Linked DNA regions of Homo sapiens: all the other regions are linked to region 3. The links are contacts of gene promoters, found by promoter capture Hi-C in blood cells and fetal thymus (Javierre and others, 2016). All regions are on one chromosome and are shown on one strand. The core of a region is centred on a gene start or on the middle of the fragment in contact, and the rest is flanking DNA. Distances in the headings are between cores, read along the strand shown.

Region 1 (4,154 bases), core at 741-3,240, 230 kb after region 3:
TGATAAGACAGTTTTAGTTTCTTCCTGTGCAGTATTATTAGGATCAATGAGACTCTGTAGTAAAACAAGAAAATCTTTAAGGAACCATACTTTCTGTATAATTTTATGAATGAAATAAACCACCAAATTTTAGAATTAAATTTATATTATTACTGTCAATGCGAGGAATCACAGATACAAAAGAAGATTCATGCTCCATATCAGTAGCTGTTTGGGGATGTAACAGCAGTGTATTTTGCAAGGTACCTTGATTGAACCTTTTATAGACTTGGGTCCCCACTATTTTCAATCATTTGTGTATACTGAATAAAGGTGCCTACAGTTTGGGCACAATAATTAAAAGTGTCCATCCTCTGTATACATCCCAAAGATTATTCACCAAAACTTTTGTGAAATGAAAATACAACTCAATTAGAAAGGAGGTGAAATATAATTTTACTTGGATTCATCTCATTTGATAAATTTATATAACTGAAAGAAAAATGAGAAAAACATAGGTCAAGCCTTCGGAAATTCAAGCATGCTTCCACTAATATTTATAGATAACATATTAAATAGTGCAAGGGTATACCTTAATCTCCCAGGCCTTTTAATGGTAGCCTGATTATGAAACTGCTGATTTTGAAAAAAAGGAATCTTTGGTTTGTGAGAATATTGAGAAACTTCTTCCAATGTAAAAAACAAAACATAAACAATGATAACAACAACAAAACACCAGAGTAGAGTTAACTCTGCAGTAGAAATCTCCAAATTTGCCTTATGATTGTCATGGGTGGGTGGGTGTGGGGGTGTGTGTGCCAGCAATTTGAGTGACTTGATAATACTTTGAGTGAGTGAAAGAGGGAACATCTTATCATCACAGGAAACAATAAAAAGGCTAGAGTGCATGGACACATTGAGGAAGGGAATTTTACATGTAATGACTAAGGAGACAGAGATATCAAGGCAGCTGATGGTTAAAAATGAATTATGTAGCTCTTTAAGATCAAAGTTCTTCAAATCTGATCATAATTAACCTATTGGAGTTCTGGTATAGAGGCAGGCTTTTTCTGAAAATTCTGTTACTATATAAAAGGGATAAAGACACAATGGTGAATTTTTATTAAGGTGGGTGAAAGGTCATGTAGAGTAAAACCATATTATTTTAAGTTTTATTATTTTAGAATTTGTAATAAACTGATGTAGACTAAGATGACTTCTTCACAGATAATTAGAATCAATGGTGAATATTTAAAATATTTTTAAAAATGACTTTTTGACCCTTAAGAACTGTAGAAATCTCTATTTTAAAAAAATACGAAATTTACAATTCTAATTATGAGCAATTATTACTAAGTAAAACTAGATCAACAAAAGGTCTAACGACTTGCTCTATATATCTATAAAAATAAAAAACTTGGGTCTCTTCAAAACACACAGCACAACATTTTAATTAATCTAGACTTATCTTTACCTCTGTTAGTTTAAGTTACTGAGTTTTCCCTGAATGTGGTGAGAAATAATAAGCGACATTTCTTCTTATTCCTAAAATCTGTGCTCTTTAGCTCCAAAATGCTCTATAGTCACACCTTTCCATTTGTTTCATTATTTCTGCTCATTTCCTAGGACCCATTACAACTAGCTATTTTAAAATTTACCACTTTTCATTTTTAACCAGATATATAAAAGAAACCTATCTAATAAGTAAATTAGGAATAAATTTTAAGATCAGGTTGATTTTATATCATATATTACAGTATACTTTTAAGTTTTTACCTGAGGAGTTGTAGATGTTTGGAAGTTTTCATCCTCCAAATGTTCATTTTTTGATTCTGTGGTATGCATGCTAAGATTTAAAAGAAAAATACTTTAAAAGAAGAAACAAGACTATAAATCCATATGAAAACAAACATGGTTAAGTGGGATTAATTTTTTAAAGGATTTTTTGTTCTAAAGTTGTATCACAGTCAAGTCAGATATCTTTATAGTCAACATAGATCCAAATATTCATCTTTAACATTATTAACCAAAGCCATATGCATAAGTTTTAAAAACCATTATCATACAGAAATGTAATATTTCTCAACAGTTCATAATGCTGGCCCATATCATAGAATCATGTATCAGAAAATGCAGAAATTTATTTTATGCACTGAACTGGTGTGTTTGAGTTAATATCCACTGTTGATTTAATCTATCTTCTGTCATGCTCTTACATAAAACACTCCAGAAAAATTTTAAATGAAATATGACCAACTACATTAATACCTACATCTATAAGTTACTGATACATACTATCTTTTTATGTGGCCCATTTGAAGGATCTGTAGGTCCAACATTTAAATATATCTATAAAGTTTTATTTTGAAGAAGAATAAACTAGATGAATAAAATAATAATTACTTATAACTTTTATTTTAAAGTATCTGTTGTTTCTACCTCCTCTGTAATCTTTGCTAGCTTCAAATATAAGTAGGGTAACTTTTCTTAAAAATATCTTCTCTCAATTTTTGAGTTGTTGTTAAGAACAAAACTAAAGATTTCAAGTTTTAATTTTTAGATAGTCTTATTACCATATCCTGTAGTGCTTCAAGTATCTATACTTTTCTAAAAGGAAAACAATTTTAATAATGAAAATTGTTAACGAAAAGGAACATTAACAGTTGAGTAGCTACCATATGCTAGCTGCTTTACATCTATTGTCTTACCATAATGAAGTAAAATATTACTGCATAAAATCCTATAAAGAATCATAACTGAATTTATAACATTATTAAAGCAAAAAATAACCTTTAAAAATTTTGATCAGAAACTTAGATCTAAATTCCTTTAAAGTGTAGTTCCATTTTGATTGAAGTGACTGTCAAAATAACTATCTTGTCATTAGAATGATGTATTAGTCCATTTTCATGCAGCTATGAAGAGATACCTGAGTCTGGGTAATTTATAAAGGAAAGAGGTTGAATTGACTCACAGTTCCACATGGCTGGGGAGGCCACAGGAAACTTAAAATCATACTGGAGGGGACCTCTTCACAGGGTGGCAGAAGAGAGAATGAGTGCAAGTAGGGGAAATGCCAGACACTTATAAAACCATTAGATCTTCTGAGACTAACTCACAAGATCCAGCTACCTATACCTTGTCCCACCCATGACATGTGGGGATTGTTATAACTCAAGGTGAGATTTGGGTGGGGACAGAGACAAATCATATCATTCTGCCCCGGCCCCTCCCAAATCTCATGTCCTCACACTTCAGAACACAATTATGCCTTTCCAACAGTCCCCCAAAGTCTTAACTAATTCCAGCATTATCTCAAAAGCCTAAGTCCAAAGTCTTGTCTGAGACAAGGCAAGTCGCTTCTGCCTATGAGCCTATAAAATCGAAAGGAAGTTGGTTACTTCCTAGGTACAATGAGGGTACTGGGAGAAATTGGCCAAAACAAAGAGGCTACAGACCCCATGCAAGTCCGAAATCCAATAGGGCAATCAGTAAACCTTAAAGTTCCATAATGATCTCCTTTTACTCCATGTGGCACATCCAGGTCACGCTGATGCAAGAGGTGGGCTCCCATGGCCTTGGGCAGCTCCGCCCCTGTGGCTCTGCAGAGTTACAGTCCCACTCTCTGGTGCTTTCACAGGCTGGCATTGAGGGTCTGCTGCTTTTCCAGGCACATGGTGCAAGCTGCTGGTGGATCTACCATTCTGGGGTCTGGAGGATGGTGGCTCTCTTCTCACAGCTCCTCCAGGTAGTGCCCCAGTGGGGACTCTGTGTGGGGGCTCCAACCCCACATTTTTCCTTTGCACTGCCCTAGCAGAGGTTCTCCATGAGGGCTCTGCCACTGGAGTAAACTTCTGCCTGGATATCCAGGCATTTCTATATACCCTCTGAAATCTAGGTGGAGGTTCCCAAAGCTCAGTTCCTGAGTTCTGTGCACCTGTCGGCCTAACACCACGTGTAAGCTGCCAAGCCTTGGGGCTTGCACCCTCTGAAGCAATGCCAGAGCTGTACCTGGCCTCCTTTAGACATAGCTGGAGCTGAAGCAGCTGGGATGCAGGGCACCATGTCTCAAGGCTGCATAGAGCAGGGTGACCCTGGGCCTGGCCCACAAAGCCATTTTTCCCTCCTAGGTCTCCAGGCCTGTGATGGGAGGGGCTGCCACAAAGGTCTCTGAA
Region 2 (4,361 bases), core at 1,538-4,037, 200 kb after region 3:
ATTTCAAAAGTGGAGGGAAAAATAACTGTCAATTAAGAATTCGGTATCCAGTTAAATGATCCTTCAAAAATGGAGCTGAAATAAAGACATTTCCAGATAAATAAAAATAAAGAGAACTTATCCTTGCTAAAGAAACACTAAATAAAATGCTTTTAAGATAAAAGGATATGACACCAGATGGCAACTTGAACCTATAAGGAATAAACGGCACTGGAAGTGGTAAATAAATTTGTAAGTATAAAAGATTGTATGTGTGTATGTGTGTATATGTGTGTGTGTGTGTGTGTGTGTATTCTGATTTCATCTCTTTTTTAAAAAAAGCATCTGATTATTATAGGCAATAACTATAACAATACTGCTGAGTTCATAGCATATAAGAGGTACATTGGATCAAAGTTGCTATATAACACTGGAATTAAGTAAAAATTATTAAACCAAAGTAGATTGTAAAAAGTGAAGATGATTGATTATTATAACCCCCAAAGGTACTTGGGAGGCTGAGATAGAAGTATTGCTTGAGGCTAGGAGTTTGAGACTAGCCTAAGTAACACAATGAAACTCTGTTGATATAGTTTGGATATGTGTCCCTGCCCAAATCTCATGTTGAATTGTAATCCCCAATGTTGGAGATAGGTCCTGCTGGGAGGTGAATGGATCATGGGGGCAGATTTCTCCTGAATGGTTAGTACCATCCTCTTGGTGCTGTCCTTGGGACAGTGAGTAAATTCTTGTGAGATCTCGTCATTTAAAAGTGTGTGGCACTGCCCCTTGCTCTTTTACTCCTGCTTTCGCTATGTGACATGTCTTTGCCTTCTGCCATGATTGTAAGCTTCCTGAAGCCTTCCCAGAAGCAGATGCCTGCATGCTTCCTGTACAGCCTGAAGAACTGTGAGGCAATTAAACCACTTATAAATTATCGAGTCTCAGGTATTTGAAAGCAATGCAAGAATGGACTAATACACCTGTCTCTAAAAAATTTAAGCAAAATTACCCAGGTGTGATGACACATGCCTGTAGTCCCAGCTACTTGACAGGCAAAGGTGAGAGGACTGATTGAGCCCAGGAGTTTGAGGCTGCAATAAGCTATGACCATGCCATTGTCTCTTAAAAAAGTAAGCCCCAGAGAGGCCAGGCGCAGTGGCTCATACCTGTAATCCCAGCACTTTGGGAGGCCGTGGTGGGCGGATCACAAGGTCAGGAGATGGAGACCATCCTGGCTAACATGGTGAAACCCCGTGTCTACTAAAAATACAAAAAAATTAGCCGGGCATGGTGGCAGGCACCTGTAGTCCCAGCTACTTGGGAGGCTGAGGCAGGAGAATGGCGTGAACTCGGGAGGTGGAGCTTGCAGTGAGCCGAGATCCCACCACTGCACTCCAGCCTGGGTGACAGAACGAGACTCCGTCTCAAGAAAAAAAAAAATCAACAGAGAAATTGAAATAGGGCACTAAAAATACTTGGTTAACATGAAAGAAGCAGTAATGTAAGAAAAGAAAAACAAAAAGACATGACACATAGAAAACAAATAACAAAATGTTAAATGCAAGTCCAACCATATCAATAATTATGTGAATGGACTAAAATAAAAAGGCAACTATTACTGTACAGGACTTTAAAAAAACAAGATTCAGCTATATGGTGCCTACAAGAAACAAACTTTAGATAAAACAAGCAGGTTGAATGTAAAAGGATAGGAGATTAGGAGACATACATATATATATACACACACACACACACACACACATACGCAAATGGTAATTATGGGGAAAGAAGAAAACATAAGTGTAATTACTATATATATGTAATTTTTTTAACCTGTAAGTCAGTTTTATTATCTGTAAAATGGGGATAAAAAAATTATCTCCTGCCAACATAAATAGGTTTTGTTACAATAAAATGAACTAGTGAGCATGAAAGAACATTGCAATCTGTTAAGATGTTCTTCCAGGAATTCTTGCATTCTAGGAAAATCAGAACATTTCTGGTTATAGAATTTTTGACATTTTGAGGAAAGATATTTTTTAGGATATATGTGAAAAGAACACTTTATCTTCTCTAATTACATCATGGATTCTCTTTTTGCATTGAGATTTTGCTTGAATATCAATAGACAAGACAAGGGAGTGGTTCAGGCACTTGTCTAGTGAGCGGATCGCTGACAGGAAGCAAGGAGCCAGAAGGACACTCCCCTGTGCTGTTGGTCAGGGGCCCGCTTGGCTGGTGCCAAGGATTTGTTCTCAGTGACAAGACAAATACAGAAATGGAGAGTGGTTACAAACTTCTATAGCAATTTGACACTGTATTTTATAAAAAGTAAATATCAGTCTACATCAAATAGGAAATTAAAAACAAAAACAATTGGGTATTAATCTACTAAGCTTAGTCCCTAGGTGACAAAATAATCTGTGCAACAAATCCACATGACACAAGTTTACCTATGTTACAAACCTGAACATGCACCCCTGAACCCAAAATAAAAGTTTTTTTTTTTAAAAGAAAAACAAAACAAAAAAACCACATCTGTTTCTTCATCACAGATAATTTGAGAAGCACTAGTGTCAGGAAAAAAGAATAATAAATAATATGTACATTAAAACTCACCAGAAAACATATATGCACTGGGATATCTTTTTGGACATTAAAGAAATGTGAAAAATCACACATATATTCCTAATGAACTTGACTATATTATATATATATGTTTATTTAGAAGTATTAAATTGAATTAAGTATTAAATTTATTTTTTAATAAGTGGTATAAAGGAAGGATGTTCTGATTAAGAAGGATAGGTAAAGGGCAATTACAACTCTGGGTAGAGAAATAGTAAAATGGCCAGAAACAGACTGGCAAAGGCTATGGAGTAATTAATCTCACAAAAGGAAGCAGAATTTATTAATATAAATAACATAGTATTGCTGATACTTAAATAATTGTGAGTTATATTGAAGAATTATTTTATATTTTAAAATAGCAAAACCCCCCAAAAAACAGTGTGGTAAAGCTGTGGTGAGGTTTGTACATTTTAGGAAGCCTTGTTATTTTTAGCTCATATGGTTTTTTGATAAGTAAAAATTTAAAAAAAGTTAAAAATGATTTCTCTGCTGCTTAAATTCCGATACACATCTATTGAGTGGTAAGATATGAGTTTAGAGTCACTGTATTTTTTTAGTAGTTCTACTAATAAGAAATTTTCATTAAGCTTTACTTTCTTTCTTTCTTTCTTTTTTTTTTTTTGAGATGGAGTTTTGCTCTTGTTGCCCAGGCTGGAGTGCAATGGCATGATCTCGGCTCACCACAACCTCCGCCTCCCGGGTTCAAGCGATTCTCCTGCCTCAGCCTCCCGAGTAGCTGGGATTACAGGCATGCAGCACCATACCCGGCTAATTTGGTATTTTTAGTAGAGACAGGGTTTCTCCATGTTGGTCAGGCTGCTCTTGAACTCCCGACCTCAGGTGATCCGCCCGCCTCAGCCTCCCAAAGTGCTGGGATTACAGGCATGAGCCACCGTGACTGGCCTAAGCTTTACTTTCTAAAAATTATATCAAAATTGGTATTTCTCTATTATGTAATCATAAATTATATCAAATATGCTGTTTTGAATTTTATTTTTCCCTTTAAACATAAAGACACACATTCAGTTCATTGTGCTATATAAATTACCAGTGTGATCACAAATTAAGAAATGCAATTCAAAGAATTTTGCGTACAAGGAGTCCTGAAAGTGTTAATAACTTTTGATGCAAAGATAATTTTATGAAAGTAATAGAAGACTAAAAAAAGGTACAAAACAATTATTATGTAAGTATCTTCCTTTTTCTGAATCACCCATGATTACTTTTTCCACCAAGCAAAAACTGACTACATACTTCAGATCTGTCTCAAATCTCCCCAGCCTCTTTTCCTAAACCTCCCCAGCCTCTCAGGACAGACAGGCTGCTCCTGTACTTTGTGCATTCTGCTATTTTTAGCAAGAGGCCTATTTTGTCAGTGTTGTCTGAATAGTATTTGCCAACTCCCAGACTTTCAGTCACTTATTTGTTTATTTATTTATTTATTTGGCTCTTTTCTTGTATTTCCCTTTTCCTTTTCTTTCCTTTCTTTTTCCATTTCCTCCTCCCTTCCTTTGCTTACTTATTTTTTTCCCTTTAATTCCCATTCACTATTTCCATGACTGTCAAATAGTAGGTTGATCCTTTAAAATATTCCTTTTTTAAAATTTATTGTACTTTAAGTTCTGGGATACATGTGCAGAACGTGCAGGTTTGTTACATAGGTATACATGTGCCATGTGGTTTGCTGCACCCATCTACAATATATCTTAAAATGAATAAAAGTGGAAACACGCAGAAGACATGGTGTA
Region 3 (4,450 bases), core at 1,187-3,686:
TTGCTTCTTTACTTTTTTTCTTTTTTTTTTTTTTTTGAGAGAGGGTGTCACTCTGTTGCCCAGGTTGGAGTACAGATCACGGCTCACTGCAGCCTCAACCTCCTGGGCTCAAACGATCCTCCCACCTCAGCCTCCCTCGTAGCTAGGACCACAGGTGTACGCCACCACGCCCAGTTAATTTTTTAATTTTTTGTAGAGACAGGGTCTCGCCAGTTGCCCAGACTGGTCTAAACTCCACCTACCTCTGCCTCCCAAGTGCTGGGATTATAGGCATGAGCCACTGTGCCCAGCCTGATGATTATTTTCAACAGGCCTTGTGTTTCCTAAGCCCCAAAAGCCTTCCCATTTCTCATTCCACTGCCATTTGAGACCCATGGCCACCTGATTGAAACCTCAAGGTTTTGCTAAGAATTTATGAAGAGAGTTAAGAAATCTCTTCAAATTGTTCCTATGAGGAAGTTATTTCATACTATGAGCAAATTCATTTTCATTAAGTATCTGTTGTAACCAAACGTTGTTTCTTAGCTTCTTAGCTCTGTAATATGGCACAATAATCTGACTTACTGAAGCCACTCATTATTTCCCATTGGCTTAATTCTTTCTTTCTTTTTTTTTTTTTTTAGAGATAGAATCTCTCTATGTTGGCCATGCTGGTCTTGAACTCTTGGCCTCAAGAAATTTTCCCACCTCGGCCTCATAGACTCTTTCTATGTTGGCCATGCTGGTCTTGAACTCCTGGACTCAAGGGATCCTCCTACCTTGGCCTCCCAAAGCTCTCACGTACCAGCACCCATTGGCTTAATTATTTCAGTAAAATCAGGCAAGGAGGAACCCTACAAAATAAACACAGGCATTCTCAAAGCAGATATAAGTGAAAACTCAGAGTATACTGTGGTCAGCTGTGTTCTCTATCACAAGTAGTTTGTCAACTTAAAATAAAGTACTAAAGTTTGGGAATGATCTACTCTAAAAATACATCGGACAATGGTCAATGTCATTTACAACATTCACCTCCTTTCTGATACACATCTCAGGAAAAAAAAAAAAAAAACTACTAAGTACCAGGTCAGAAATTTGGCACAACCCTAGATGACCACCTTGTCATGCAAATAAACTTAGAATGGTGCTCCTGAAAGTCAGCCACAGTGCTTCAAAAACACATGATTTTTTAAAACACCAAACTAAGCATACCACATAGTATAGAGACCAGGCTATGGAGTTGAGACCACCTGGGTTAGAATTCCATTTCTTTCCATTTAGTTGCTGTCACCTTCCTAATTTCTCTGTGTTCCATAATTCCATATTATCCATAAAATTCAGATATGAACACTTACTATACAGAGTTGTTATGAGGATTGGACAATGTATGCATCCCACAAGTAGATCAATTACAAGTACATTTTGCCCCAAGTAAAGACAACACGTGGGAACGCTGTGCAAGAGGGAACAGCAAAAGCAGTTGGAGGATGGAAGTCAGTTTGCAAACCTATGCGCACAGGCAGCCAAACACGAAAACGTTCCCCACAAGTAGTCTGTAAATTGGAGACTCCATTGGGATACACACACACACACACACACACGCCCTGAGAGGAAATAGCACCTTTCTTCATCACCAAGTTAGCCTTAAAAATTATTTACCCGTTGTTAGCCACACTAGCACTGACAAACCCAACTTTACTCTTGTAGGTCATTCTCCACAACGTCTGTGCTGCGTCAATCCCAAATCTGACTCCCTGACGCTTAACAGCGAAAATAAAAAACCGAGACATTACTCAATAGAGTTAACCCTTACTTAACAAAACGCTGTTGTCCCCTGTGGCGTGCAGACAGTAGAGACAGTAATTCCCGACCTTATGCTTGTCAGTGACGGCATGCCCTTTGTATACACGCTTCAGTAGAGAACGACTGCAGTAAGTAAACTGCTAGTAGCAACACTGTTCCCCTATCTAAACTTCCCCTTTCCAGAGTTACTGATGTCCCAACATGGGTCGGTCGCTCAGTCTCCGTCAAGCCCGTACCCCATAGCTTGGGCATTTCCCCCCGCAGATCACAAGATGCAAAGGGGAAGTTACTACCAAACCGACGAGAATGGCCCAGAGCTGGGGGCTGCCAGGCGGTTCCTGGGCCCCTCTCAGCACCAGAAGAAGGCGGGCGCAGGCTCGCCGCGGGTCGGCCGCACGCCATACCTGGATCAGGCCCTGCTGGAACAAGGCGCTGTGCACGCAGCCAGGGACCGCCCCGGGCAGCTCCAGCGAGCCGTTCCCATTGCAGATGCTCCAGTTGCCACGCAAGCTGTAACTGAGCTCCGCGGCGGTGGTGCCTGCACCGCACAGCGCGAGCAGCAGGAGCAGGTGGAGGCGCATCTTGAGATCCCGCGCCACCGAGATGTGGAGAGATCGAAAGGCAGCGCTGCAAGGGACCGGCGGTGAAGCCACTCACCCCCTCGGAAGTAGCCGAGGCTTTAGGTCCCCGCCCCGGCCCCGCCCCTAGGTCAGCTGAGCGCTCTCCGGGCGCAGCCGCGGGCGGGAGGGGAACGAGGAGGCTGCGCCTGCACCCGCTGAAAGCCGGGCGTCGCGGGTGCGGGAGCTGCAGCCCCCGAGAATAGCTACAGGCTGGGGGGCATTGCGGTCTGAGCCTTCCCTCGGCGCTTCTTCCCGCCGCCTCAGTACATACAACTGGAGGCAAGAATCTTGCACGGTAATTGGGACAGAAAGATCCCTGGGCGCGCAGTGGCACAAAGCCTCGGGAGATCAGAGACCGACTGTACGTGGAGACCATAGCTGGAGAGTCCCCTCACTCCTTCAGAGAACCCAAACTGGGAGACAACCCACCACTTCCCTTCCGCCAAATTTACACAGACCCTCGTCTACCTGGTAGCGTAACACTCACCCCGCTGCAGCTCAACTCGCGGGTCTCAGAGCCTACCCCGCCCTTCAAAGAGTAAACAAGTACTAGCAGTATCTCCATCAGAAGGTTGTTCTGAGGGCTAACCAAGAAAATGCGACTATAGCATGCAGCATGGAGCCTGGCCCAGAGAAGGCATTCACGTTAGCTATTGTTACTAGCGGCCTGCGTCCTTATGTTTCATAAAGCCCCACGGAGGTTTCTGAGGTTCTGGAACCTGCACTAGGCGCGCAGCTGAGTTTAAAATCCTCTGCACTCACTAGCTGTGGGACCTGGGCAAGCCGCAAAATCTCCATCTCCGTTTCTTGAAGTTTTCAAGGTGTTATAAGTATAAAATGAGTAAACATATGTGATCGTCCCTAACAATGCCAGAGTACCCAAGAAATACCACTGACTTATTTCGGGTCTTGTAGTCAAATGGTCTACCTGAGTCCCATTTTTGCAATAGGATGTAACAGTAATCCTAGAAGTTAAGACGGAATTTTACATTGCATAAAATAGACTGCCTTTCTCCTGTGTTGACGCTATCTGCCGTATATTTATGCTTCGGAAGAAGTCCTTGAAAAGAAATTTTCTCTCATCAAATCTGAGCTTTGTTTCGCCTTACAATGGCCTTGGAATTGCCTGATTCTGCAGACACCGGGCAATATCTTACTTTGCAAAGTCAGCATTATTTACAAGCCCTGAATATCTTGGCTTAAAGGACAGTATGGATTATCCAACCCAAGCCGCTGGCTTTACAGATGAGGGAACTGAGTTCAAAGAGATCGGGGCCAGGCGCGGTGGCTCACGTCTGTAATCCCAGCACTTCTGGGAGGCCGAGGCGGGTGGATCACTTGAGGTCAGGAGTTCGAGGCCAGCCTGGCCAACATGGTGAAACCCTGTCTCTATTAAAAATACAAAAATTAGCTGGGCGCGTGGTGGCACGTGCCTGTAGTCGCAGGTGCTCGGGAAACTGAGGCAGGAGAACCGCTTGAACCCAGGAAGCAGAGGTTGCAGTAAGCCGAGATGGCACTACTGCACTCCAGCCTGGGCTATAGAGAAAGACTCTAAAAAAAAAAAAAAAAAAAAGATCAGGTGACTTGCCTGTCACATAGTGGCAGACAGGATTAGAACCCTCCTCTTCAAGGTCCTACTGTCAGAGCCCAATGATGCTATAGGGGAAACGCTCTCACTGCTTCAAAGCCTTCCTCACTCACTCCAGAAGCATTTTTACCTTTGATAGAAACAAAGCTCTCAATTCAAATTATATGCCATAATTCACGGCATTAAATGGCTAGCCATGGTCTGTGCAACACTGATAACACAAGGTTTATGGCAACAAGAGCGGCAAAGGAATTTTTTCATAATTCCCAGAGATTTCATTAAGCCAAATCAGAGGAAAATTCATCCTTGATGATACATATGGATATATTCTGTTTATTAAGAAATATAATTTTTAGAAAAACAATAATAGAAGATTCTCATTCCTCCTTTCATTCCAGGATGCAAGCATAACATCATTTAGGTTACTTCACTTTGACAACAGAGAACATCAAAGAATAAT
Region 4 (4,603 bases), core at 1,961-4,460, 220 kb before region 3:
TAGTTCAGTGCATACTCGGTCATATGGAGACAGCAGGAAAGAGTCAGGGGCCAACTTGAAAGATTTGGGGCCTGGCTGTGGTTTGCAGGCTGTAGACACCAAACTATACTTTATAGAACATGTGAAAATATAGCCTGTATGGGTTACTCTCTTACTGATTGTCTAGATTTGATGCCTTACATTAAATCATTTTAAAACCAACTCTAGAAGTCTACTCAAATCCTGCATTTTCTACTGGAATAGTGTCCCATGCATAAAACCCTGTTTCGCATAGGTGTAGGCTAGCTTACAGACCCTCTTACCATGTTGAGATTATTTCTAGAACTCAGGCTACTGAACCATCTGGTGCTCTGCCTGTGTCTTTCACATAGCTAAGAAGAAAATTTCCATTTAGCTTTCTGATATCTTGCTGTGCAAGTCTTCATGCTCTTTTTTTAAAAAAAATTTTAATTATAAATTCTTTCAAGCATATAGAAAGTTTAAAAATTGACATAACAGACACTATGTACTACAACACAAATTTAATAGGTATTAGCATCTTACCTTATTTGCTTTTGATAGCTCTCTCTCTCTCTCTCTGTCCTCTCTCTCTCTCAAATAAAATAGTTACAGCTAAAACCCCACTTATCCATCACTTTGTCCTCCTTCCTTCTCTTAGGTAAGCTGCTACTCTGAACTTTCACTCCCCAAGATGTTTTTATATTTTTACTACATAAGAATGCATCTATAAATACTGGCATTTTCAAGAAAGTTAATTTTTACTAACTTCAACCCAAATTTGCCATTGTATAGGATGGCTCCTTTTCAGGGCAAACATAGGTTCAAACTGGACGCCATTGAAGATTAACTGGTACTCACTTTGATCCTATTGATTCCTCTTTGCTGTCTAGATAAAAATGTATTTGTCACAATGTAGTTTGTACTAACTCTTATAGCAAAAAATAATATTCAGAGAAAAATCTAGGGGAAGTAAGTATGCAGACTAACTCTTATATCTTGTCCTTTCATAAGAAAAATTTCCCATCATTAAACATTTAATAATCTATTATACTGCCTATAAAATTTCCCTTTAAAGTTTTTTCCATTCTAATTTCATCACGGAGCTCCTAATAGGAGAGGCTGGCAGAAAAGCACAGGAACCTTCCTCTAGGCCAAGCTTGTCCCTGCCTGCTTTTGACTCAGCAAGGAGTGCCAGGGAAGGCTCACTTCCCTATTTTTCCCGAAAGCCACGCGTGAAGTTTTAAAAATCAAACTGTGTTCCCTTTCACAGAGGTGGGTGACAAGAGAAGCAGCCCCATGGGACTTCAGAAACTCTCACCAATCCTCCTCTAGAGTGACCAGAAAGTACCCCTTCCTATCCTAACTAATGTGACACGTCCTTCTGTGTGGTCCACTCTATGCAAAACCAGAAATTGACAAGAATGACTTTGATTGTAAAGTACAAATAGCTTACCAGTTAGTATTCTTAGTTTCTCTTTAGTTATAAATATCAAATGCAAGGGACTTGAAACCCAGCTGATAGAAGTGTAACTATTTTTAATCAAACATTTTCTGAAAGCTGGTTCTCACATATGTTGTCTTTCCTGAGTGTTTTATGTTGAGTGGAAGACGTGTTGAAATGTTTAGGTCAACAACAGCTTTTTTGTTGTCCCCTTCCACTACTGATTTAAAAAAAAAAAAAAAAGGCTCCACTCTTCGTGCCTTTCCTTAAAAATCCTAAATGTTAAGTTTCTGTCGAGGTCGAATAGAGACTACCCGATCTGCTGTGGCATTTGAGGATATCACATATCCTTGCATAATCTCCCTTTCCTTTGTATAGACTTGTCTGATTCACGTGGTTTGGATCTATTTGGAGTACTAATTTAAAATAATTTAACCTGACTCAATTACTTAAAACAACAGGGGAGAAAATCACCAATAATCAGCTATGTGTGCGTATAGAACCTAGTTCATATCATTTATTAGGATTTCCATTGAACCCCTAAGCTGTTCACTGCGCAAGTATTTAATTAGGGAAAATAACCATACCCCTATGTACATTATACTGTGTGTTTTGTAAACCATGAGAAAAGCTGCTTATTGAACAGAAGGGCTTTGTAACCTGGGGTCTATGGATCCCTGTTGGTGGTTTCAGACGCTTTTTAGATTCCTAAATTTATATGCAGACTTACACATGTATGTATGTGCATTTTTTCTTGGGAGATGAGTATAACTTTTTATCATATTTTCAAAGGGAAAGATTTAACATGGTTAAGAATCATGCTATAGCTTGTATCACTTTAGCTTTTTGATAGCAGCTATCTTTTTAAATGATCTATGTAATATTTTTTAAGATTTTTTCTTTTTTTATTCTTGCATTTTTAATCAATTTTAAATGAAGTGAAATGCTTTATGTTGCTCAACACATAGCCCAGAAAGCCTCCCTTCAGTTTTCCAGTAGGTGGAAAAAAGATGAAACTGAATTGATGGCCAAAAGAGTTGAATGGGCTTCACTGCTTTTTCTTTCTTGCTCTTCCATGCATTTGCAGATTAAGCATGAAGCTCACCATTAGTGATTGAAGCCAAAAGAGAGAAGGCAATTCATTGAACAAATATTGATTGAGCACTGTGTGTCAGGTACTGCTCTAGACAAGCAGACAAAACTCCCTCCCATATGTAACCACAATTGAGACTTATAGGTAATTTTTGTTGCAAGTAGTTCAGAAGTTTTGTATTTTGTCCTAAAACAAAATATTACTTTGTAAAATATTTTTTTAAATAGCCCTCTAAATCCGCTGTATATATTCAAAGTCACTATTATAAAGTGGAGAAAGCTACTCATTAGAGAAAACCTATCACACAGATAATAGCTGGGAAGCTTAACCCTTAGAAATTATTAGGAGAGATATACACTCCTTGAATTTAAGAACTGTCTGAATTTTAAATTTTGTTTTGTCAGTTCTGGCTTGGTGACCTTCCTCTATTGGCCATTCCCATTTTTCTGCCCTCCACTCTTCCTTGACACATGATTATTTCTGGGACCACTGTTCAATCCGAAACAAATCTCTGGTGGCTTCTTTTAAACCCAGTGGTCTCAGTCTGAAGGTATAGTGGGGCAACTCTCGGCATTCCATTCTGGAGTCTTGACCTCATAAAGTCACATATTGGCAATTCGCCTTGATAAGGTCAAGTGAACACACAGAAGCACTAAGATCCCCACATGTGTTCCACTGCCTCCTCCACAGACAAGTTGTTTTTCAACCCATCTGCAGGTCCAGAGGTGAAGCTGGAGGCTACCCTGCAGTCTCAGTCTTTTCTCCCCACCCTCCAGATGGATTCCAAATAAGAAGCCTCCAGACTACCTTCACCTCCCTGGGGTCTCATGGACATGGGCTGGAAAGTGCTTGCAGACTTTCACAGACAATGCTTTTTGCCTTTAGGTCCCCTTCTACCCAACAGAATGATTATAATAATGGCTTGATGTGCTTACTTACATCATCTCATTTAATCATCACAGTAATCCACTGATGCAGGTTCTGTGATCCGCATTTTATAAATGAGGAAATTGAAGCCTAGAGAAATTAAGAAGCTTAACTTGGGTCTCACAGGCTTTTAGAGATGGAGCCCAAGATTTCAGTTCATGCCATATGGTTTAAGGGCCTGCACTCTTAACCATTGTGGAATACCATTCATTATCATAATGTTAAGGATCTGTTTCTACTTTGCAGGAATCTTTTAAATCTATGGTTCACAATCATGGGTGGGCTTCAGAATCGTCCAAAAATGTTTCAACCACAGAGACGCCTGGGAACCACTGCACAATTGCTAAATCACAGTGCATCATCTAGCCAATCTTGGATTCTACAATAATTCTATGACAGTTTCTAAGAATACATGCCATTATATAATGGCAACATATTACAACAGATAATTGAATAGATATTCAATGTATACCGTGGAATAGAATATTATGCCACTGTGTTTTAAAAAGATAATTAAGAGGATACGGCACAACGTGGAAAACTGCTTATAACATAATATTAAGGATAAACCTCAGCTGGGCATAGTGGCTCACGCCTATAATCCCAACACTTTTGGGAGGCCAAGGCAGGAGGATTGCTTGAGCCCAGGATTTTGAGGCCAGCATGGGCAACATAGTGAGACCCTGTCTCTATAAAAAAAATTTTTTAAAGAAAAAAAACAGGATTTCAAATTATTGCTAATATTTGTAGTGATTACAAATATTAGCTTCTTTTTATAAAGCCTGGGTGGAAGCATATAGATGTATCTTTAGCTTTATTTATTCATCCATGACTTAAAGAAGATTGGTTAACACCTGACTCCACCTTGAGTAGCAGAACATTGGACTGAAGGAAAAAAAAAAATGTGAAGCTGTCTTACTTAGCTACAGTTTCCAGCATGTTTTCTCAGGAGCTCTATGGGAGACAGTGCAGTGTGGCTCTCAAACCTTACTACCCATAAAAATCTGCTTCAAAACCTACTTAAAATATCGATTTTATTCCATTTCCAAAGCCTGGTAGAGTAGGTAATTCTCCCACTACAATACACTTAGTAACACTAGAAAAAAAATATAACATTTTCTTTAATGCATAGCTGAGTTTAT
Region 5 (4,404 bases), core at 587-3,086, 240 kb before region 3:
CAGAGACTGTGGGGTCAGATTAGCTAGCATTACTATATGAACCTGAGCAAATGACTTACTCTCTTTCAGCTTCAGTGTCTTATCTAGGACATTGGTTCTCAGGATTGGTGTGAGAATTAAGAGAAATATGTGAAGTTCTAGCTACAGTTCTTTACCCATGAGGTAGTCAGTAAAGTTTACTTCTTTCTCCATGTGAACCAAAGCACTGTCATGATGTGATGATGTTCATTAGGGTTTCTCATGCTCAGCGTTATTGATATTTAGGGTTGCATAATGCTTTATTGTGAGGGGCCATTCTGTGCAGTATAGGATGTGTAGCAGCATCTGTAGCCTCTATACACTAGATGCCAGTAGGACCACCTATCCAGCTGTGACAGGCAAAAATGTCTTCAAACGTTGCCAAATGACCCCTGGGGGCAAAATGCAAACAGTTTATCTAGCAGTGACACATAGCCAGCCACCTTAGAAAGGGAATTGTCAGCGTACCCATAAGTGTAGAATGGGAAACAAAATACTTGAGTCTTCTCAGAATGTCTAAACCTTTTGCTGTCTATATTCCTCTTTTTATAATTTACCACAAACATATATTGCTTATTATGCCATCTAATAAAATGGCTAACATTTGCTGTGTATTATACTCGGTGTTAATAAGCTTTGTATGAACTCACTAGCTGAATGTTGTATATGTATCTGCCATACCTGTTGGATTGACATTCCACTGTAAACAGGTACCTTATCTTTACCAGCTCCAAGCACAATGTATTTGGTATATCAGGTAGCTATTCTACATGTTAATTGATCACATTGCACCCAAATGAAACATGGATGTGGAAGTGGAAGGAGGAGCTTTAAAACATGGAAAATTAGTTTATACAAATCTAAATGTTGTAGTGCACCAAATTGATTCCTTTTTAAAAACTTTCAGAAATCAGCTTTTAAAAAAAAAAAGTAACTAAGCCATGATCAACTTTTCTTTCATCACCACTAAGCCAATATCAGAAAGTTGTCAATCAACAGCTCTTTTAAAGTTGAAATTTTTCTATTGTATTTCTTATGAAGATTTCAGTAGTGCTTAGAAGTTTTTGGCTCATTTATCATGTTTTATTCACTGTATGTCATTAATTGTTAAAGATGTCAGAGTCAAACCTTAAATTCAGGAGAGATTTAAATTTTTCCTTTTTCCTATTTAAATATATGTTTCTAATTACATAATTCAGTTAGAAAATTACAATATAGAAACATATAACTTAGTAAAAGTTTCCAGTTACTGTATACAGATTATATTGTATACTGTATTATTTTTAACAGTTGCATATTTAACTTATAAATGTGGATAATTATAATTAAACAATCTGTTATCAAAGGACATACAGATTATTTCCAGTTCCTTGCTGCAGTGAATATCCTTGTACTTATTTTTTTACACACTTGCTCAGATAATTTTTAAGTACAAATTCCTGAGGTAGAATTGCAGAATCAAAAGATACTCTCATTTGAGTGTTTCACATTTTATGCAAAGTATTTTGTTTCCTCCAGAAAATTCCTCTGTGGAAGAGGCTTCCTCACATTCTTTATCAGTTTATTAGCCAGCAGAGAAATGATGAAAAGCCACCCCTTTTCTTGTAGTTTCATCCTCATTGCTATCCAAGATGAGGTATTAAAATCACACCTAAGTGGTGTCTGTTGTGGCTGAATATAATCTTGAAAGTAGAGACACTTCTCTCTGATTCCCAACTGTACTCTCTGGATGGCACCTAAAATTTTATTTTTTCAAACTGAAAATCATTTTAATGAGTTCGAAAAGGTTTTATTTTTTAAAATGAAATCCTATAGAAAGAATACATTTTCTTACAGTGGGTCATGGTCAAAAGTGTGAATATCTCTGATCCTAGAAAGTTTCCCCAGTTACAAGGACAGGCGTGCCCCCAACTCCATCCTTAATGGCTCAATTCTGTGGCTTTCAAGTTAATCCACTCAGTCCTACAGCCTTCACCAAGAAGCTCATGTGCTACACTTTGGTGTTAGTGGGGGCATTGTCACACAGGTTCAGAAAATAACCCATTAGGCATTTTATAGAACTCATCACATGTTCAGAACTAAGCTAGTTGTAACATTATGTTTTTCATGTGAAAAAACACAAGCAATTCACTGGCTATTTTATTTGTTGCTAGCTAGCTATACTTTCTATTTCTTTTTCCATGGTGTGAAAATCTTCCTAGAAACCTCACTACTGGGAAAAGAGATGCAGAGATTAGTCCCATCTTCTCCCCTGGAAATTTACTATCGCCCTTTTGGCTTCAAGGTCCTTCCTCAAAAGCAAAGAATTGAACAAGGGAAAGTGAGGGGAAGGGCTGGGGGAACAGGGAGGTAGAAGGGGTTTTCCCTGGTCTTTTCTAATCCTTTAGTTCCAGACGCTTAGTTGGTATTTCAACATTTTAGAAATAAAACCTGCTTTTATAATTAATGCAAATATTACTTAGTGATTCATCCTTTCCAAATGATTCTTGGTTTCTTTTGACATTTCATTTTTAAATTGTGAATTAACATTGACATCACCATAGCGTTACTGTTACCTCAGCTCTTTACAGTGAACTGTATTGCAAAGGCTATAAAAGTTCAAATTTTAACTATCACCCACGTGAGCCTTGGACTGCTGTTAGGCTTTTGAAACTGTGATCCTTTGGCAAGAATTGGTGTATAAATCATGGGGAGGATATTGAAGGGGAAGATCATGTTTAATTTGGCAGTTGGGTGCCTGCAATTGACAGATTTTCATTAAGGTTTTAGCTATAGTAGTGATCATGCATCAGTTCTAATAAAGTAGGTTTCGTTTGAATTTTAAAAATTAGAGTGAGGACTGCTTTATGTTAACTGTTTACATTCAGAAGTCTGGAAAACCATCCACAGGTTTAAATGTATATAATCAGTATAATTAACACATCAACAGCCTCACCTCTGTTTTTGAGGACCATAGGCTAATATTATTTATGAAGGTTCAGGAGATCAGTCTAGATCGACAGAAAGCTTAAGGGCAAAGATGGTTTTAATATTTTTCTTGGAAGTTTGAGCTTCTGTGGTATTCTAAGGATAGGGATTTTGACATTGATTGTTCTAGCTGGTATTCAGTACTGTATTTAAGTGTAATGTTTTTACTAGTATTCTTCTTATAACTGAAAACTATGCTAATGATTCTTTACTATAGATATATACTCATAAATACGTGTAAAAATCCAAGTTTACCAAAAAATATTAAGACTTAGGGGATATGTTCTTTGAATAGGCATTTATTTGCTAATTAACATATTCTAATCTCAACAAGGTTATATTCTTTTCAAAAATCCATTCCATCAAAATCTGTCATTTTTACAGATGAAGAAACAAAGGCCACAGTGAGTTTAGTTAATATCCAAGATCACACAGCCAGCATGATAGAACTCTTAAATTTCAAGCGACTTACCCTCTTTACTCTATCAGGTCAAATTTCCCTTTTTTAACTGCTTGTCTTAATTGAGATTTGTTTAATTGTGGCTGTCTGTATATCTTCAATCAATACTTTCTTGTTTTAGACAAATGTTTCCCTGCAAATCTGCATGAACTTCATGTTCTGAAGGACTCAGAGCTGCCCTTTCCTTTTTGTTAAAGTTGTACACTGCTCTGCATCCCCCTAGAATGCTCATCAGCTTTCTCACTCTTCCTCACTCACACAGTGCTCCAGCAGGAGAGGATTTCTTTGAAAATCAGATTCTTTTTTGGAGGGCTTTGTGCTTATTGGAGTGTTATGTGATATATTCATTACGGTGAGGGCTAAACTCTTTGAACAAAGAGACCTGACAGTGCATTTGGGTTAAAGAACAAAGTTTATTTCTTTCTCTCATCACCACCAGCATGAGCAGCCTGGATGGTCAGAGCAGATCTGTCTCATGGCATTGTTCAGGGATCCTCATTCCTTCCCTCTCATTTATCTGCCATCCCCTAGGCTATTAATCATCATGTTTTTGGTAGAAGCCAGGTCTTCTCCATGTCTGAGTTTTTATGGAGGAAGCATGTCAAGGGCCTTAAGCCCAGACCTGGAAGTGGTATGCAAGAGTTCTGACATTGCACTGGTGAGCATTTGGTCAGATGGCCATCTCTAACTCCAACGAAGTGTAGGGTATACACTAGGTAAGCAGTCACATTTCCAGCTACAATACTAATTCTATGGAAAAGGAGACAACATATTTTGATGGGTAGCTGACATTCTCATCTGCAGTCCTAAGTACTCATGACTGCTAGATAGACTTTATGAAAAAAAAAAAGAAAAATAACCCCAGGAATTAATATTTACCCTCAGCCTTGTGTTTCTTTAATTTTCTCATTTTTCATGTCACATATCTAAAATTTGATCTAAATAAATTTAAATAAAAT
Region 6 (4,234 bases), core at 683-3,182, 150 kb before region 3:
ACCCTATCCATGAAAGATCTAGGTCAGCTGAGTTCTGAGTACGAAAGTGTATGCCTAATCAGATCAGAGTTGAGATGTGAGAAAAGGTTAGAAGAAAAACACAAAATTCACATAAAAGTTACCCATTCCAAATTCACACCATAATTGTGACCATCTCAATTTCTGAAGCTAGGATAAATGTTACTGTTTGCTTAGGACTTAGGTAAGTGATTTCAGGATGTAAAAATAAACTAAGAATTCTTCTTAGAATTTCAATAAATATAAACAGAGTAAATAGATTTAAAGCCTTCCTCAAAACTCCACAGGGCTGAGATCTGAAGGTATAAAGCAGTTACTAGGTCATTTGGCCCCAGGAAGAAAAGCCAGAGGGAGGAGGTGGGCAGCATGCAAGATCTCCAACATGACAAGATCAGTTCTTCTAGAGACGAGAGCTGCTCCACTTCTAAAACTGCTCATGTGCCTCCCACAGCCTGTATGTGTCCAGCTCACTGACGTTAGCATGGTTCTCCCTTTATGTTAGCACCTCATTTCCCCAGAAGGCCTTGCCACAGAACACAAAAAGATGATGCACTCAGTGACCCCACGCTCTCCTTACCCAGGTCAGCCAGCAACAGAGTGACTGCAGAGAACACCACAAATGCCTCGGCAGCTACAGAATAATTTTTCTTTTAGCCTAAGACAATTCTGGACCCTCAGTTAAAATGTCAGTATTGCCAGAGGGTTAACACCAAGCCTTGTGAACATCTAGACATCTCAATTTGAGCAAGTTTATACAATTCATTCTCATAAGCTTGTTCCTATGGAAGAAGGGAGACAGCTTCACAGCTCTGAGTAAGCTCTTCACTAGCCTTAGGTCTCTGAGCAGGAGATGATTGACATGGTGGCCTGGACTGCCTGTTCCTTCCAAAAGGCTATAGCTCTGACTCTCTGCAGTTTGGTTGGGTATTCTGACCCAGCTCAGAGTTTGTGCAAAGCACTATTTCCCAGTACCAGAGCCCCTACAGCTGTTCTTCCCCCAAAGGGTACCATATTCTTGGAGGGTGGTCCTGATTCCTCTTGCCATTCCTCCATCATTAGGGTACCAGGCCCTCCTAAGGAGGACATGCTGAGTTGTTTATTATAAAGAAACAGACTGCCCTAGTGGTCCCTTCGATGTATAACGATTTCTGGTGTTTTTCTTTCCAACAGGTATTTGACATATTAAATGGGAAACCATATGAGCCAGAGTTTACATCTGATGATTTACTAGCACAAGGTGGGTTGTGATAAAACCAGATTCTCTTAACCATTATTATCTCCACACTGTCATTTAAAGGGAGGAACCAGCATTATCCAGGGTCTACTGTTAAAAGTTCTTATTTCAGAACCAAAAGATGCTGGAGGTAGATAAGGAGAATATCCAGTTTTAATCTACTGTAAATGTATACTGCCTTCTACTCAGCTGGGCTTTGACCTTCAAGTAGAGTAGCTTGGTTGGTTCCACTGGGAGTTGGACAGCAAGCCAGGCAGCAATGATCAGTCCCTCCAGAGTGTCTATGGCATGTTAGAACAAGTGTGTTCCTTCTTCATTTCCTTCAGGAGACATGAAACAGCTGGCTGAAGATGTGAAGCTGCAGCTGTATAAGTTACTAGAAATTCCTGATCCAGACAAAAACTGGGCTACTCTGGCGCAGAAATTAGGTCTGGGGATACTTAATAATGCCTTCCGGCTGAGTCCTGCTCCTTCCAAAACACTTATGGACAACTATGAGGTAACACCTTACCTTACAGATTTAGCAATTTTCATTTGACTTTACTCTGTTAACATCTCTGGCCAGGGCATAATCTCCTTCCCTTTTCCTTAACTCTGAAGAAGAAAACCAGTCATTGCCCAAGGCCTGGGAGGGTGACCCAGGCCAAGTTGGCAGCCCATCTTCCTGAGAATGCTGTTTTCAGATACCTTCAGATTTTCCCCGTTTTCAAATACCTGGAGACTTCCTGTGAAAATGCTACGTAGAGGGTCAGGATTTTCACAGAACTTTAACGGCCCTGAGCAAACAATCGACTGTAATCAACGTGTAGCTTCCTGTCCCCAAGAACACACCTTACCCCATGGCAGGGCATTGAGTCATGTTCTGTGAGGTGACTCCTAGTGGAGCCATTACCCGGGGATTTTTTTTTTTCATTTCTAAAAATAAAATGTAGAAAAGCATGGGGTGAAGTTTTCTGTTGAAAATTTCATGGTTAGCTTTTGTTTCTGCATGGATTTCAGAGCTTCAGCTTACAGAGGGAGACTGTGTAGACGTCACTGTAGGCAGAGTTTCACTGCCTCAGCGCTTCTCTCGCTGTCTCTCTCTCTGCTTACTACAAACCACTTCTCTGTGATTTCCTGAGTGGTCTTTGAGCCGAAACAGGAAACTTGATTCGAAGACTGTATTTTCTTAGTCGCTCTTCTCTGCCCTTTCCATTTCCTCCTGGCTCCTGAGTGGAGGAGGCAGCATGGAAGAGGGAAGGGTGGGCTGTCAGTGCTTACAGCCTGCACTGGGACTCGAACACAAGAACATGCTCCTCCTTCCTTTCTTTCTCACAGGTCTCTGGGGGTACAGTCAGAGAGCTGGTGGAGGCCCTGAGACAAATGGGCTACACCGAAGCAATTGAAGTGATCCAGGCAGCCTCCAGCCCAGTGAAGACCACCTCTCAGGCCCACTCGCTGCCTCTCTCGCCTGCCTCCACAAGGCAGCAAATAGGTAAAAAAAAAGACAAAAGACAGTGGAGATATTTTCCAGCTCCCCCAGGCTGGTGTCTTCAGCTCTTTTTGGATATGGTGTGGCAGTTTTCTTTCTCGTTTTCTGGATACACTTCCCTGTGTGTCTCTCTACCCCCTGGGCTCACCCTCTGCCTCTCTTGATAGTACCATTCAGATGAGGGGGTCGTACCCTTGGAAAATCACATTGACACATGAACTACTTAGTAAACACTAAATAATACAATAAATACTAAAAACAACATGATGTGGGTGATTAAATTTAACACATGAGAGAAATAATATTTACCTTAAAGAGAGAACCATCTCCTTCTTCCTTTGCCTCCTCTCTCAAGCTTATGACACTGACCTTGTCCCCCACCATATATGGGACTACGTGTCATGCCACCAAAAGTCTCGCAACCATATGAAATGGACTCTCAACCCAGCCCAGTAATCCTATATTTCCTACAATTTTATTCTCCCACTCTGTAAATGATGATTCCATGCTTTCTATTTCTAAACCCCCAACACTCCTTCCCTCCCCTTACTCATGCAACACCCTTGCTTCACACTCTGTTGAAAACAGAAGAAACCAGAACCCTCTCACCTTTGCACCAAGTGCCAGCCCACCTGTGCCTGTGCCCACATTGGCAGCCTTCCATCCGGACTTGGTGGGTTAAATTTCTTTGCCCAGCTGAGGAGCCACCTCTCCCCTGAGTCTAACCCCCTCACCTTTACTAGGTTGTTGTTCCTGTTAATTCTTACCTCTCTCTCCTGTACTAGCCGTTCCTCCTCCCCACTCTCCGACTAGGTCACCTAGCAAGCATTTCATGATTTCCTCATCTTTAAAAACAAAACACACCGAAACAATCACCCTCTTGATCCCACATCCCATTTAGCTACAGTCCAATTGCTCTATTCCCATACATAGCAGAGCTCCTTCAAAGAATTTTTTAGAGTTATTCTTTCCAGCTTGCCACCTTCCACCCTCTGCTTGGCCTCCTGCAGTTGGGATCGCATCCCCACCGCTCCACCAGGCCTGCTGTCCTCACAGTGACCGGTCACCTCCACATTGCCAGATCTGGTCACCTCCTTTTCACCTTGACCACTTGCAGAGTGTGTCATGGTTGACGCCTACCTTCAACTTCAGACCGTCTCCATTCCTGGCTCCTCCACAGCACACTCCCCTGGCTGGCTCTTCTACACTCACCTTTTAAAGTCACAGCCCTCCAGGGTCAGTCCTAAACCCTCCCTGCTTGGTACCTCACCCAAGCCCAATACTGGCTACATCTGTCAGAAGCGCTGCCATCTTCCAGGAGATTAAGACAAAACCCAAGAATTCCTCAGGAGTCCTTTCTGCCACTAATCACTTCGTATGCGACGCATCGAGTGTCATCCTGTCTGCAACCACCGCCCCAGGCCAGCCTGCCGTCATTTCCTGCCCAAATTCTTGCACGGCTCCTACTCAGTCCCCTTGTTTCCTTCCTGTCCACCTCCCTTCAGTCCATT

What was found. The method cuts DNA at HindIII sites, captures the fragments that hold promoters and counts their contacts. A CHiCAGO score of 5 or more calls a contact.
Region 1: a fragment that was not itself captured here is called in contact with the fragment with the promoter of MANBA in region 3 in 12 of 17 cell types (total CD4 T cells, monocytes, naive CD8 T cells and 9 more); the score reaches 9.7 in total CD4 T cells.
Region 2: a fragment that was not itself captured here is called in contact with the fragment with the promoter of MANBA in region 3 in 1 of 17 cell types (total CD4 T cells); the score reaches 5.5 in total CD4 T cells.
Region 4: a contact is called between a fragment that was not itself captured here and the fragment with the promoter of MANBA in region 3, in 1 of 17 cell types (monocytes). The highest score is 6.5, in monocytes.
Region 5: a fragment that was not itself captured here is called in contact with the fragment with the promoter of MANBA in region 3 in 1 of 17 cell types (monocytes); the score reaches 6.4 in monocytes.
Region 6: a fragment that was not itself captured here is called in contact with the fragment with the promoter of MANBA in region 3 in 1 of 17 cell types (neutrophils); the score reaches 5.1 in neutrophils.

The regions. Positions count from the first base shown.
Region 1 is chr4:102,989,888-102,994,041 of GRCh38, forward strand. SLC9B1 (solute carrier family 9 member B1) reads right to left here. Exons shown (of 12, transcript NM_139173.4): 2 at 1,756-1,825; 3 at 1-54. The coding sequence starts at 1,824. Among named protein-coding and RNA genes, the nearest start is that of SLC9B1, 28 kb to the right of the region's middle. The HindIII fragment of the contact is 7,430 bases long and covers 1-4,154 here.
Region 2 is chr4:102,957,515-102,961,875 of GRCh38, forward strand. All of the region lies in intron 3 of SLC9B1 (solute carrier family 9 member B1), which reads right to left. Among named protein-coding and RNA genes, the nearest start is that of SLC9B1, 60 kb to the right of the region's middle. The HindIII fragment of the contact is 822 bases long and covers 2,377-3,198 here.
Region 3 is chr4:102,758,532-102,762,981 of GRCh38, forward strand. MANBA (mannosidase beta) reads right to left here and starts at 2,437. Exons shown (of 17, transcript NM_005908.4): 1 at 2,187-2,437. The coding sequence starts at 2,363. RefSeq lists an enhancer at 2,032-2,381 and a silencer at 2,472-2,601. The HindIII fragment of the contact is 23,862 bases long and covers 1-4,450 here.
Region 4 is chr4:102,541,937-102,546,539 of GRCh38, forward strand. All of the region lies in intron 5 of NFKB1 (nuclear factor kappa B subunit 1), which reads left to right. Among named protein-coding and RNA genes, the nearest start is that of NFKB1-AS1, 42 kb to the left of the region's middle. The HindIII fragment of the contact is 711 bases long and covers 2,856-3,566 here.
Region 5 is chr4:102,519,746-102,524,149 of GRCh38, forward strand. All of the region lies in intron 1 of NFKB1 (nuclear factor kappa B subunit 1), which reads left to right. Among named protein-coding and RNA genes, the nearest start is that of NFKB1-AS1, 19 kb to the left of the region's middle. The HindIII fragment of the contact is 2,372 bases long and covers 651-3,022 here.
Region 6 is chr4:102,610,856-102,615,089 of GRCh38, forward strand. It overlaps NFKB1 (nuclear factor kappa B subunit 1), which reads left to right. Exons shown (of 24, transcript NM_003998.4): 21 at 1,189-1,255; 22 at 1,579-1,751; 23 at 2,570-2,726. All of the region lies in intron 1 of LOC105377347 (a long non-coding RNA gene), which reads right to left. Among named protein-coding and RNA genes, the nearest start is that of NFKB1-AS1, 110 kb to the left of the region's middle. The HindIII fragment of the contact is 2,288 bases long and covers 789-3,076 here.